4 separate regions of the Homo sapiens genome follow, and all the other regions are linked to region 4. The links are contacts of gene promoters, found by promoter capture Hi-C in human tissues and cell types (Jung and others, 2019). All regions are on one chromosome and are shown on one strand. The core of a region is centred on a gene start or on the middle of the fragment in contact, and the rest is flanking DNA. Distances in the headings are between cores, read along the strand shown. Region 1 overlaps APBB2 (amyloid beta precursor protein binding family B member 2). Region 2 has its middle 25 kb from the start of RBM47-AS1. Region 3 has its middle 44 kb from the start of RBM47-AS1. Region 4 holds the start of NSUN7 (NOP2/Sun RNA methyltransferase family member 7).

What was found. The method cuts DNA at HindIII sites, captures the fragments that hold promoters and counts their contacts. A contact is called where the count stands out against the background at its distance.
Region 1: a fragment that was not itself captured here is called in contact with the fragment with the promoter of NSUN7 in region 4 in 1 of the 25 tissues and cell types used here (dorsolateral prefrontal cortex).
Region 2: a contact is called between a fragment that was not itself captured here and the fragment with the promoter of NSUN7 in region 4, in 1 of the 25 tissues and cell types used here (lymphoblastoid cells).
Region 3: a fragment that was not itself captured here is called in contact with the fragment with the promoter of NSUN7 in region 4 in 1 of the 25 tissues and cell types used here (mesenchymal stem cells).

What each region holds. Positions count from the first base shown.
Region 1 is chr4:41,163,026-41,165,725 of GRCh38, reverse strand. All of the region lies in intron 1 of APBB2 (amyloid beta precursor protein binding family B member 2), which reads left to right. Among named protein-coding and RNA genes, the nearest start is that of APBB2, 50 kb to the left of the region's middle. The HindIII fragment of the contact is 4,001 bases long and covers 1-2,700 here.
Region 2 is chr4:40,399,982-40,402,681 of GRCh38, reverse strand. No RefSeq gene overlaps it. Among named protein-coding and RNA genes, the nearest start is that of RBM47-AS1, 25 kb to the left of the region's middle. The HindIII fragment of the contact is 5,760 bases long and covers 1-2,700 here.
Region 3 is chr4:40,381,042-40,383,741 of GRCh38, reverse strand. No RefSeq gene overlaps it. Among named protein-coding and RNA genes, the nearest start is that of RBM47-AS1, 44 kb to the left of the region's middle. The HindIII fragment of the contact is 5,805 bases long and covers 1-2,700 here.
Region 4 is chr4:40,748,532-40,751,231 of GRCh38, reverse strand. NSUN7 (NOP2/Sun RNA methyltransferase family member 7) reads right to left here and starts at 1,277. Exons shown (of 12, transcript NM_024677.6): 1 at 932-1,277; 2 at 241-629. The coding sequence starts at 538. The HindIII fragment of the contact is 15,367 bases long and covers 1-2,700 here.

The DNA of each region.
Region 1 (2,700 bases), core at 111-2,610, 410 kb before region 4:
GGCCGAAAACTCCCCAGGTGTAGAGAGTTTCATAGTGGGCATACCTTGGGTTATAAATTGACGTCTTGTCTCTTGAGGCAACCTCCTGGTGGGTGAGAGTTCCGCTCTGGAATTGCTAAGCACATAGTTAGATGAACTTGCTGTAGGGAGTATCTGGTGAAGATGAGGTAAAAGGCTATAATTGCATTACTAAAGAGCTAAGTAGGAAGTGAGGAAACAGAGGAAAGAGATAAGAAGAGAGAGAGAAAAAACCGATTCTGAGAACTATCGGGGTACTTGGTTACATGGGTAACCTAGGGATGTAGTACTCATGGTGGCCCCTGGGTGAGGGCAGTCTTGTGGTACTGAGCCCTTCTACCTGTGGCCTCTGACTCCTTGTGGGTAGTTCGTGTGAGAGTAGCATTGGATGGTAAGATGCCCAATTTGTGTTGGAGGATCAGAGAATCCAAGATAGTCCTTGTAGCATCCTTGAAAGACGGGTACTCTTAGGACCCTCCTGTGCAGTGAGGAAACAGTTAAGTGACTTGCTACACCGCTACAATGGCACACCTGGGGTTCTTTGGATTCTAACTGTCTCTCCCACATGGGTGCCTTGCGGACATCTCAAATGGTCAAATAAAATATAAAATAATCGCTGTTTTTGTGAGGGAAGTGTTAGAGGGTTCATGGCTTTGGGAAGTGGTTTATTGCTGTGATGGTGAATCTCTCTGCAAATGGGGCTAAAGGGAAAATATTCTCACTTAAAGCCCTTTGTAAAATAAAAGCTTAAAAAAAGTGAAATCCAGAATTATTCCCTGAAGATGGACTCTATGTTAATTTTAATATGTACTTAAACACCTGGATTTAGTCTAGCCCTCTAAAAAACAGCCATGTTTAAAAGATCACTTAGGACTATTTCTAAATTAAAAGAATCAACCTCTTAAGTCATAACCTTCTATTGGCTCTTAGAACAACTGGAATTTACCCTTTGTATGTATGTTAAAGCTAGTGTGATGTAGGGTTTTAAGTCCAGAGGATAAACTAGCTGTTTTAGTTATTTAAAGGTTAACATTTAACGAGAAGTGATATTACTTCACTTTTTCAGGCAATCTATATAAGATTTTGTTTTGTTTTGTTTTTCAAAGGGACTTATCACAGAAAGTATCTATTAAACACTTAATTGGGTTTGTGCTGTCTGGTACAAAGGGAAACTATTGTGGTCTCTTAGATAAAAGGGAAATTATGTATCTAGGGATCTCTTCTGAATCAAAGGAGCCGCCTTTTGCATCCTGTGTCAGTGTCTTGAAACTCTGTAGTCCTAGACTACTGATAATTATTTGTGTATATTTTCAAAATCAGTTGTGGATTCAGAGATTGTAATGTGCACACTGCTTACGTTTTATCTCAGTGTACAAGGTGAGTACCCCTCATGTGAAAATCTGAAGTGCTCCAAAATCCAAAACTTTTTAGCTGCCATTGTGATGCCGCAAGAGGGAAATTTCACACCTGACCTCATGTGACGGGTTGTGGTCAAACCAAAGTCAAAACTTTGTTTCATGCACAAAATTATTAAAAATATTGTGTAAAATTTCCTTTAGGCTATGTGTATAAGTTATATATGAAACATGAATTTCATGTTTAGACTTGGGCTCCATCTCCAAGATACTTCCTTATGCAGATATTTCCAAATACAAAATCCGAAACTCTACTGATCCCAAGCATTTTGTTTAAGGTACCCCAGCCTTTATAGATCTTATAGACTTTTCTTTATAATTAATTTCCTTCCATCTATGTTCCTTGTTTTTGAAACGTTAGAGAACATTTATATTTCATGTAGGTTGAATACAAAGCTGTAGAAGTATGTTATTTGAGGTTTTGGAGTATAAAGGTGATCTCAAAATTTTTAGACTTGAATTTCTTTTTCTCTCTCATTTTCTAAAAAATAGAATTAACGTGGAAAATACACATTTGCCTCAGACTCACATGCCCAGAGTATGGAAGGCCTCAGAGAAATCAAAATAAGATTTATGAACATATTGAAGAAAGTGGATTGGTCCAGTGTTCCCTGGGATCTGTTGAATTTAGCTTAAAGTCAAGATGTCCAGGATGCCCATTATCACTGTTGACAAGAATTTTTGACTGACGCTTGTTTATGATCTGAAAGGTGTATATATTTTCTTGAGGAACTATAGGGATAATTTTTCTTTTCCTTAAGAAAGTAATCTTCTTTCTCTGAAAGCTGAAAATCAGCTTATATTATCTTTTACTCCTCCTGCCTCCTGGCCCCAGGTATTCAGTTGATAAACCATGTCACTTCCTTCTTTCTTTGGTCATTCTTGTTGACCTAGTGCAGGGACCCATCAGGTGGATTATTGAAATCCAAACTGGAATCCTCACTTCTAATACACTCACTAATGCTTTAGAATACAGATCCAGGGCTATTCCCCTATTCAAAAATGCGTGATGATTCTCAAATCTCTCAGCAGATATGTGGTCTATCATTACCATACTCTTTCCCCCCAGATCTTTTACCCACCTGTGCTGCTGCTGTTTTAAAATCTGCCGGAATCATCCCTGCCTTGTGGCATTACCCAAGCTGTCCTCTATGTCACATTGCATGTTGCTCCATCTGGGCCCAAACTGCCATTTTCAAAGTCTAGCCTAGGTCTTACCTTATCCTGGAAATTCTTCTAGAGTCCTCTTAAGTAGTTCTCACTTATC
Region 2 (2,700 bases), core at 38-2,537, 350 kb after region 4:
AAAGAGTAAAACCCACCAGGTGTGGTGCCTCATGCCTGTAATCCCAGCTCTTTGAGAGGCTGAGGTGGGCAGATCACTTGAGGCCAGGTGGCAGATCACTTGAGGCCAGGAGTTCCAGACCAGCCTGGCCAACATGGCAAAACCCCATCTCTACTAAAAATTTGTACAAAAATTACCCAGGCGTGCTGGTGCGCACCTGTATTCCCAGCTACTTGGAAGACTGAGGCACCAGAGTCCCTTGAACCCCTAAGGCGGAGGCTGCAGTGAGCCAAGATTGCACCACTGTACTCTAGCCTGGGTGACAGGGAGAGATGTTGTCTCAAAAAACTGAAACTAAAAAATAAATAAATAAACAGTAAAACCCAGGATTATATGTAATACATATACGTGTACATATATGTACATACATATACGTGTACATATATGTACATACATATACGTGTACATATATGTACATACATATACGTGTGCATATATGTAATACATATACGTGTACATATATGTACATACATATACGTGTGCATATATGTACATACATATACGTGTGCATATATGTACATACATATACGTGTGCATATATGTACATACATATACGTGTACATATATGTACATACATATACATACACATATGAAATACATACAATGTATTATATGTATATATGTATTCTATGTATTTCTAGAATATAATAATCCTAGAAATGTGTAGGGTTTCTATAATCCGTGTTTTCCCAGAGCCTGATTTCTTTTGGGGCCTCCCCTAATTTCCATTAGTCATTTCCAGATGTCAGTTAAGCAGCTGGTTTCCAGCTGGTAGAAAGCACCGCTCATTAGGAACATTCGCAAGACCCCAGGCCTTTGGCTGACAAGTCACAGAGTTTCTGTCGCCCTTGCAGCTGGAAGGACTCTGCTAAATGACAAACTTCCTGACGTTTTCTCTTCTCAGCTTGTACTGTGATAAACTTTCGGGGATCACGTTTCAGTTTTTATACCGTCTCTCATTTTGTGCTGCTAATTTCATGCCTACCCCTCAAAAAAAAAATACATAAAAAGGCCAGGCGCGGTGGCTCACTGCAGCCTTGACCTGCCAGGCTCAAGCGATCCTCCCACCTCAGCCTCCTGAGTAGCTGGAACTGCGGACACATGCCATCACGCCCGGCTAAGTTTTGTATTTTTGGTAGAGACACCATGTTGCCCAGGTGTGGCTCTGTTTAGCCATGGCGGCACTCACTGGCACAATTCTGTTACCTGAGCAAAAACAAAGAAAGGTGAGTTTATTGGTTTTCCAGGGCTGCCATAACAAAACACTACAGACTGGGTGACTTCAACAACAGAAATTTACTCTCATAGTTCTGGAGGCTGGAAGTGTGAGGTCAAGGTATTGGCACGTTTGGTTTTTTCTGAGGCCTCTCTCCTTGGCTTGCGGCTGCCTTTTTGATGCCTGTTCACCTGGTCTTTTCTCTGCGTGCACTGTGCGTGCATCCCTGGCATTTTTGTTTGTTTGTTTGTTTTGTTTTTTGTTTTTTTGAGATAGGGTCTCTCTCTGTCACCTAGGCTGGAGTGCAGTGGCGTGATCTCTGCTCACTGAAGCCTCGACCTCTTGGACTCAAGTGATCCTCCTGCCTCAGCCTCCTGAGTAGCTCGGACTATAGGAGCATATACCACCACGCCTGGCTAATTTTTGTATTTTTTGTAGAGACGGGGATCTCACAATGTTGCTCAGGCTGGTCTTAAACTCGTGAGCTCAAGTGATCTGCCCACCTTGGCCTCCCAAAGTGTTGGGATTATAGGGATGCGCCACCATGATCGGCCCCCTGTCTCCTCTTATAAGGACACCAGTCAGATTGGATTAGGGACCACCCTAATGTCTATTTTAACTTAGTTACCTCTTTAAAGGTCCTATCTCTAAATCAATGCATGAATTTTGGGGGACACAATTCAACCCAGGAACAGCGACACTTTCCTGCTTCTTTTTGTTGTTGCTGATGTTGAGGAGGAGGGAGAAGAAGAGAACATACTCTGGTATTTCAGAGGGATATGAACATTCAGAAACTACATAGAGGTTAGCAATTCGAACCAAGAAGGTAAAATAAGAAGAAAAGTTAAAAGACCTGAAACCACTGGGCCTGATAGAACAGCTAATTTTCTTTTATTGAAATACACAGTGGCAGACTTAAATATGCTCACCATACAGCTTGGATGTGCAGGGAAAATATTTTGTGTTGTCATCTCATTTGTTATTTGCTAGGTAAAGAGAAGAAATAGAGCTAAATGCCCAGTTCAGCTTAAACCTTAGTTCAAATCAACAGTTTAATTGGTCCCTTTGGGTCCTGCTTAGGGTCTCTGGTTTCTGCTGCCTCCTCCCCCATCCCTCATCAGAAGGTGTGTGAACCTATGGCTCATGGCATCATCAAGGGGAAGAAGGCACCTTGGCTTTGTGCAGGTCCTGAACCCTATGGGTTCAGCTGGCGCCCATGACTGGAGCCTTCAGCTGGCATAGCACCTGCCTGGGTTCCCTCTTATTTTCCCCCTGTGTCCTCACCTCGCCCCAACTCCTTCTGGAGCAGTGGCCCCATCAGAGCTCTGCACCCCCTCCCTCTGCCATCCTGGACTGCGGTCATCAGGCCTAACTTGCAGGCTCTCCAATGGGGCTGTAGAGTAGGCCCTCTCACTGTCTGACATGTGACCTGCCTTTTGCTCCAT
Region 3 (2,700 bases), core at 135-2,634, 370 kb after region 4:
GCTCCAGTTTTGGGTGCATATATATTTGTAATTATTATATCCTCTTGCTGAACTGACCCTTTAATCATTATATAACAAACTTCTTTGTCTCTTTGAATAGTTTTGTCTTGAAATCTATTTTGTCTGGTGTAAGTGTAGACACTCCTGCTCTTTTTGGTTTTCATTTGCATGGAATATCTTTTTCCATTCCTTTATTTTCAGTCTACATGTGTCATTATAGGTGAAGTGTGCTTCTTATAGGCAACACATCGCTGGGTCATGTTTTTGTTTTAATCTCTGCAGCCACTCTATGTCTTTTGATTAAAGAGTTTAGTCCATTTACTGTCAATGTTATTATTGATAAGTAAGGACTTACTCTTGTCATTTTGTTGTTTTCTGGTTGTTTTGTGGTTTCTTTTCTTCCTTCTTTCCATTCTTCCTGTCTACTTTTTGGTGAAGGTGATTTTCTTAAGTGGTATGTTTTAATATATTGGGTTTTTGTTGGTTTTTTTTTCTGTTTGTTTTTGTTTTTGAGACTGAGTCTCACTTTGTTGCTCAGGCTGGAGTGCAGTGGCACAATCTCGGCTCACTGCAACCTCCACCTCCCAGGTTCAAGCAATTCTTGTGCCTCAGCCTCCCAAGTAGCTGGGATTACAGGCACCTACCACCACACCTGGCTAATTTTTGTATTTTTAGTAGAGACAGGGTTTCACCATGTTGGCCAGGCTGGTCTTGAACTTCTGACCTCAAGTGATCCACCTGTCTCAGCCTCCCAAAGTGCTGGAATTACAGGCATGAGCCAACGCTCCAGGCCTATTGTTTTTTATTGTATGTTTTTTGATTTGAGGTTACCAGGAGGCTTGCAAATAAATAATATCTTATAACCCATTATTTTAAACTGATGACAACTTAACACTGATTGCATAAACAAACTAACAAACAAAAACTATTACAAATGTTTTACTCTAACTTTATCCCCCACTTTTTAACTTTTTGTTGCTTCTATTTATATCTTGTTATACTGTCTAATTCTTGAAAAGTTGTTGTAGTTATTATTTTTGACGGGTTCACCTTTCAGTCTTTCTACTCAAGATAGGAGTAGTTTTTACACACTACAGTTACAGGGTTATACGGTTATACTGTGTTTTTCTGTGTACTTACTATTACTAGTGAGTTTTCTACTTTTAGATGATTTCTTATTCTCATTAACATCATCCTTTTCTTTCATATAGAAGAATTCCTTGTAGCATGTCTTGTAGGACAGGTTTGGTGTTGATGAAATTCCTCAGCTTTTGTTTGTCTAGGAAAATCTTTATTTGTCCTTCATGTTTAAAGGATATTTTTTCTGGATATACTATTCTAGGATAAAAGTTTTTGTTTTTGTTTTTTCCTTCAGCACTTTATTTATTTATTTATTTACTTTTTTTTTTTTTTTTTTTGAGACAGAGTCTTGCTCTGTCACCCAGGCTGGAGTGCAGTGGCACGATCTCAGGTCACTGCAATCTCTGCCTCCTGGGTTCAAGTGGTTCTCCTGCCTCAGCCTTCCAAGTATCTGGTATTACAAGTATGCACACCACATCTGGCTAATTTTTGTATTTTTAGTAGAGACGGGGTTTCACCATGTTAGCCAGGCTAGCCTTGAACTCCTGATCTCGAGTGTTCCACCGGCCTCAGCCTCCCAAAGTGCTGGGATTACAGGCGTGAACCACTGCACCTGGCCCTCCTTCAGCACTTTAAATGTGTCATGCCACTCTCTCCTGGCCTGTGAAGCTTCCACTGAGAGTCTACAGCCAGATGTATTGGAGTTCCTTTGTATATTATTATTTATTTTCTCTTGCTGCATTTAGGATCCTTTCTTTATCCTTGACCTTCAGGAATTTGATTATTAAATGCCTTGAGGTAGTCCTCTTGTCGTTAAATCTTCTTGGTGTTCTATAACCTTCTTGTACTTGAATATTGATATATTCCTCTAGGTTTGGGACATTCTGTTTTATTAATTCTTTGAATAAACTTTCTACCCTGATCTCTCTCTCTCTACCTCCTCTTTAAGGCCAATAACCTTAGATTTGCCCCTTTGGACCTATTTTCTAGATCTCGTAAGCACGCTTCATTGTTTTTTATTCTTTTTTCTTTTGTCTCCTCTGACTGTATTTTCAAATAGCCTGTCTTCAGGCTCACTAATTCTTTCTTCTGCTTGATGAATTCTGCTGTTAAGAGACACTGATGCATTCTTCCACATGTCAATTGCATTTTTCAGCTCCAGAATTTCTGCTCGACTCTTTCCAATTATGTTAACCTCTTTGTTAAACTTATCTGATAGGATTCTGAATTTGTTCTCTGTGTTATCTTGGATTTAGTTGAGCTTCCTCAAAACAACTCTTTTGAATTCTCTATCCAAAAGGTCACACATCTCTGTGTCTCCGGGATTAGTCACTGGTGTCTTATTTAGATCATTTGGTAAAGTCATGTTTTCCTGGATGATCTTGATGCTTGTAGATGTTCATTAATGTTTGGGCATTGAAGAGTGAGGTATCTATTGTAGTCTTCACAGTCTGGGCTTATTTCTACCCATCCTTCTTCAGAAGGCTTTCCAGGTATGTGAAGGGTCTTGGGTGTTGTGGTCCAAGTCTTTGGTCACTGCAGCCTTATCTGCTTTAGTGGGCAGTCCACACTCAGTAATGCTATGGCTCTTGCAGACTGGCTGAGGTACCACCTTGGTGG
Region 4 (2,700 bases), core at 28-2,527:
CGCGCACTACACCGATCTAAGGACAAACACAGTGCACGGGGAAATCTGCAATCCTGGGCTGGAAGAGCTAGTTTCATGGGAACCCTAATTCCTTGACACTTGCAATTAACCAAAGATATGCACATGCCTAAAACCAAAACCTGGTGTGAATGAGGGGAAGGGAGGAGGAGGGCTGCATTCCCCAAATTCTCTCGCTATTATTTTCTTTTAGTGTTGATCTTCCAGACTGGCACAACTCACATTTCAGGGCACTGAAAGCCAGCTCATAAGACAAACGCTGAAAGGACTGATCCTCAGACTCGGACAAGGACCGCAGGGGTTCATTCCCATACTTGATTAAGACTTTCTGTGCCGACTTTTCGATTCGAATACCCTGAAAAATGTTGGCTGCCATGACATAAACGGAGTCCGGATAGCCCGTTTTTTCGGGCACACCAGCTGAGCTTTTCCCACCGGACAGAGGCAGGGAAGTGAGTTGGGAGATGATCTCGGGATCTTCTTCGTTCGAAAACTCCAGTTCGCCCGTGGAATTCAGCATGTCTGCCCCTCGCCTGTCGTGAGTCCTTCACCCTGGGGTTAGAATTCCGATGTTCCAGGAAACGGCTTTCCTCGCATCTGCAGCATGGTCTCTGTGAAGAGAGAAGGTGATTGCAGTAAATCACTCTTTCTGCAGCACCCCTGTGGGTGGCCCCCTTCGTTGTGGCCTTAAAGACTAAGAGGGAGCATTTCCCGTCCCATCTGAGTGTCCCAGACTTCGAGCCTGGGACGCTCAAAAAAAAAAAAAAAAGCGAGGAGGGGTGCAGCGGCGGAGGGAGAAGAGCCCCAAGGAGACCGACGGCTTCCCTCAAGCCAGTCTGGGGGCAGAGCTGCCCCCGGAGCCCCGTCCGCGTCCCCACAGCCCAGTCACCGGCTCCCCCGACTCCTCCCTTACCCCGAGGGCGGATGGTTCCCGGGGCTTCGGGGACGAAGACGCGGAGGGCGGCGTCGGTCACAGGCCCTTGGGAGCCCCGGGACTGCGGGGCGACGGCTGCTGCCCGCGAAGGCCGTTTGGTTCAAATGCAGCCACTCCCACCGGCAGGATTCGGGGCAGGGGGGTCGCAGCCTCTGGCGCCCGGTTCGCTCCGGTGTCGTGAAGTGGTGGGCGCCTCGGGGCCTCGCCTGGCCTCGCGCGTGAGGCCTTCGCGGACGTGGCGGCGAAGAGGGGTGAGCGCGGTGCCCGGGGTCTGGCTGGCTCAGGCCGAGGAAAGCTCAGCCTCCCGAGTCTCCGGCAGTCGACTGCTCCCGGACCGGGTCTTCATGGCAACCGCGAGCGGAGGTGGGGCAGGGGGCGCGGCGCGAGGGCCGTTCCCGCGGGATTTGGCGGGTGCTACCTGTTGCCGGGAGAGTCGCTCTTCCCCCAGCGCGCGGAGACACCTGTTTCAGCCCCTCCGAGCCAGAGGCCTCTTGCACAGTTCCTGGACCTCACCGGGCCTGAGTGCGTGCCCTTGGCTTTGTTTATAAACATTTGGGGATATTTTTGAGGTAGTCTGACGTAGTTCCGTGGTTTTAACTCACAAGTTCCTGAAGTCCCTGTTAAAACTACACATTCTTTAAAATATTTTTAAAATATAGTAATAATTTTTTTTTTGAGACATGGTCTCGCTCTGTCGCCCAGGCTGGAGTGCAGTGGCGCAATCTCGGTTCACTGCAGCCTCCTCCTCCCGGGTTCACGTGATTCTCATGCCTCAGCCTCCCGAGTAGCTGGGACTACAGGCGCCCGCCACCACACCCTGCTAATTTTTGTATTTTTAGTAGAGACAGGGTTTCACCGTGTTGATCAAGTTAGTCTCGAACTCCTGACGTCAAGTGATCTGCCGGCCTTGGCCTCCCAACGTGCTGGGATTACATGCGTGAGCCACTGCGCCGTCTGTAATAATTTTTTTTAATAACAGAGACAGGGTTCCCATTATGTTGCCCAGGGTGGTCTCGAATTCCTGGGCTCAAGGAGTCCTCCCTCCTCGGCCTCCCAAAGTGCTGGGATTTCAGGCGTGAACCACCGCCTCCAGCTAAAAAAAAATCCTTGGAACCCATCCTAGAGATTTGAGTTGCTAAGACCCAGTAATTTGCATTTTTATCAGGTAACTGGCGATTCTGATGCAATCAGCCCAAAGACCACAGTTTGAAAAACTCTGGTATAGTTGAAAGACAACTGGTCCTAATTCCACCTCTGCCTTTCCTCCTTAGGGATTTGCCCTTCCTTCTTTAGGCTAAGGCCATTTCCATTTCCAGCCAGTGGTTAGTAGGATGAAGGGGAAAGAGAGGGCAGCCCATATTTTTCAATGACCTGAAAGGTGCACATATCACTTTGGCTCACATTTTATTGGTCAGAACTCAGTCATATACCCAGCAACCAAGAGGCTGGTAAATGTGTCCAGCTAAAAATAAGGGAACTATTACTGTAGAAGAAGGAGAGAATGGATAATGGGGAAAAAATTAGCAGTACAGAACTCTAACCCTGACCCCTTCTCTCAGAAATCCACCCACTTTCATTATCCCCGGAATACGTTAAACATTCCGTAACATTTTATGTATACATGCATTCATTCGTTCGTTTAACAAGTATATATTAAATTCTTGCTGTGTCCCTGGCATTGTGTTCAGCCCTACAAGTAAAATAATGAATGTATAGAAATGATCAGACACCTGACCGGGCGCGGTGGC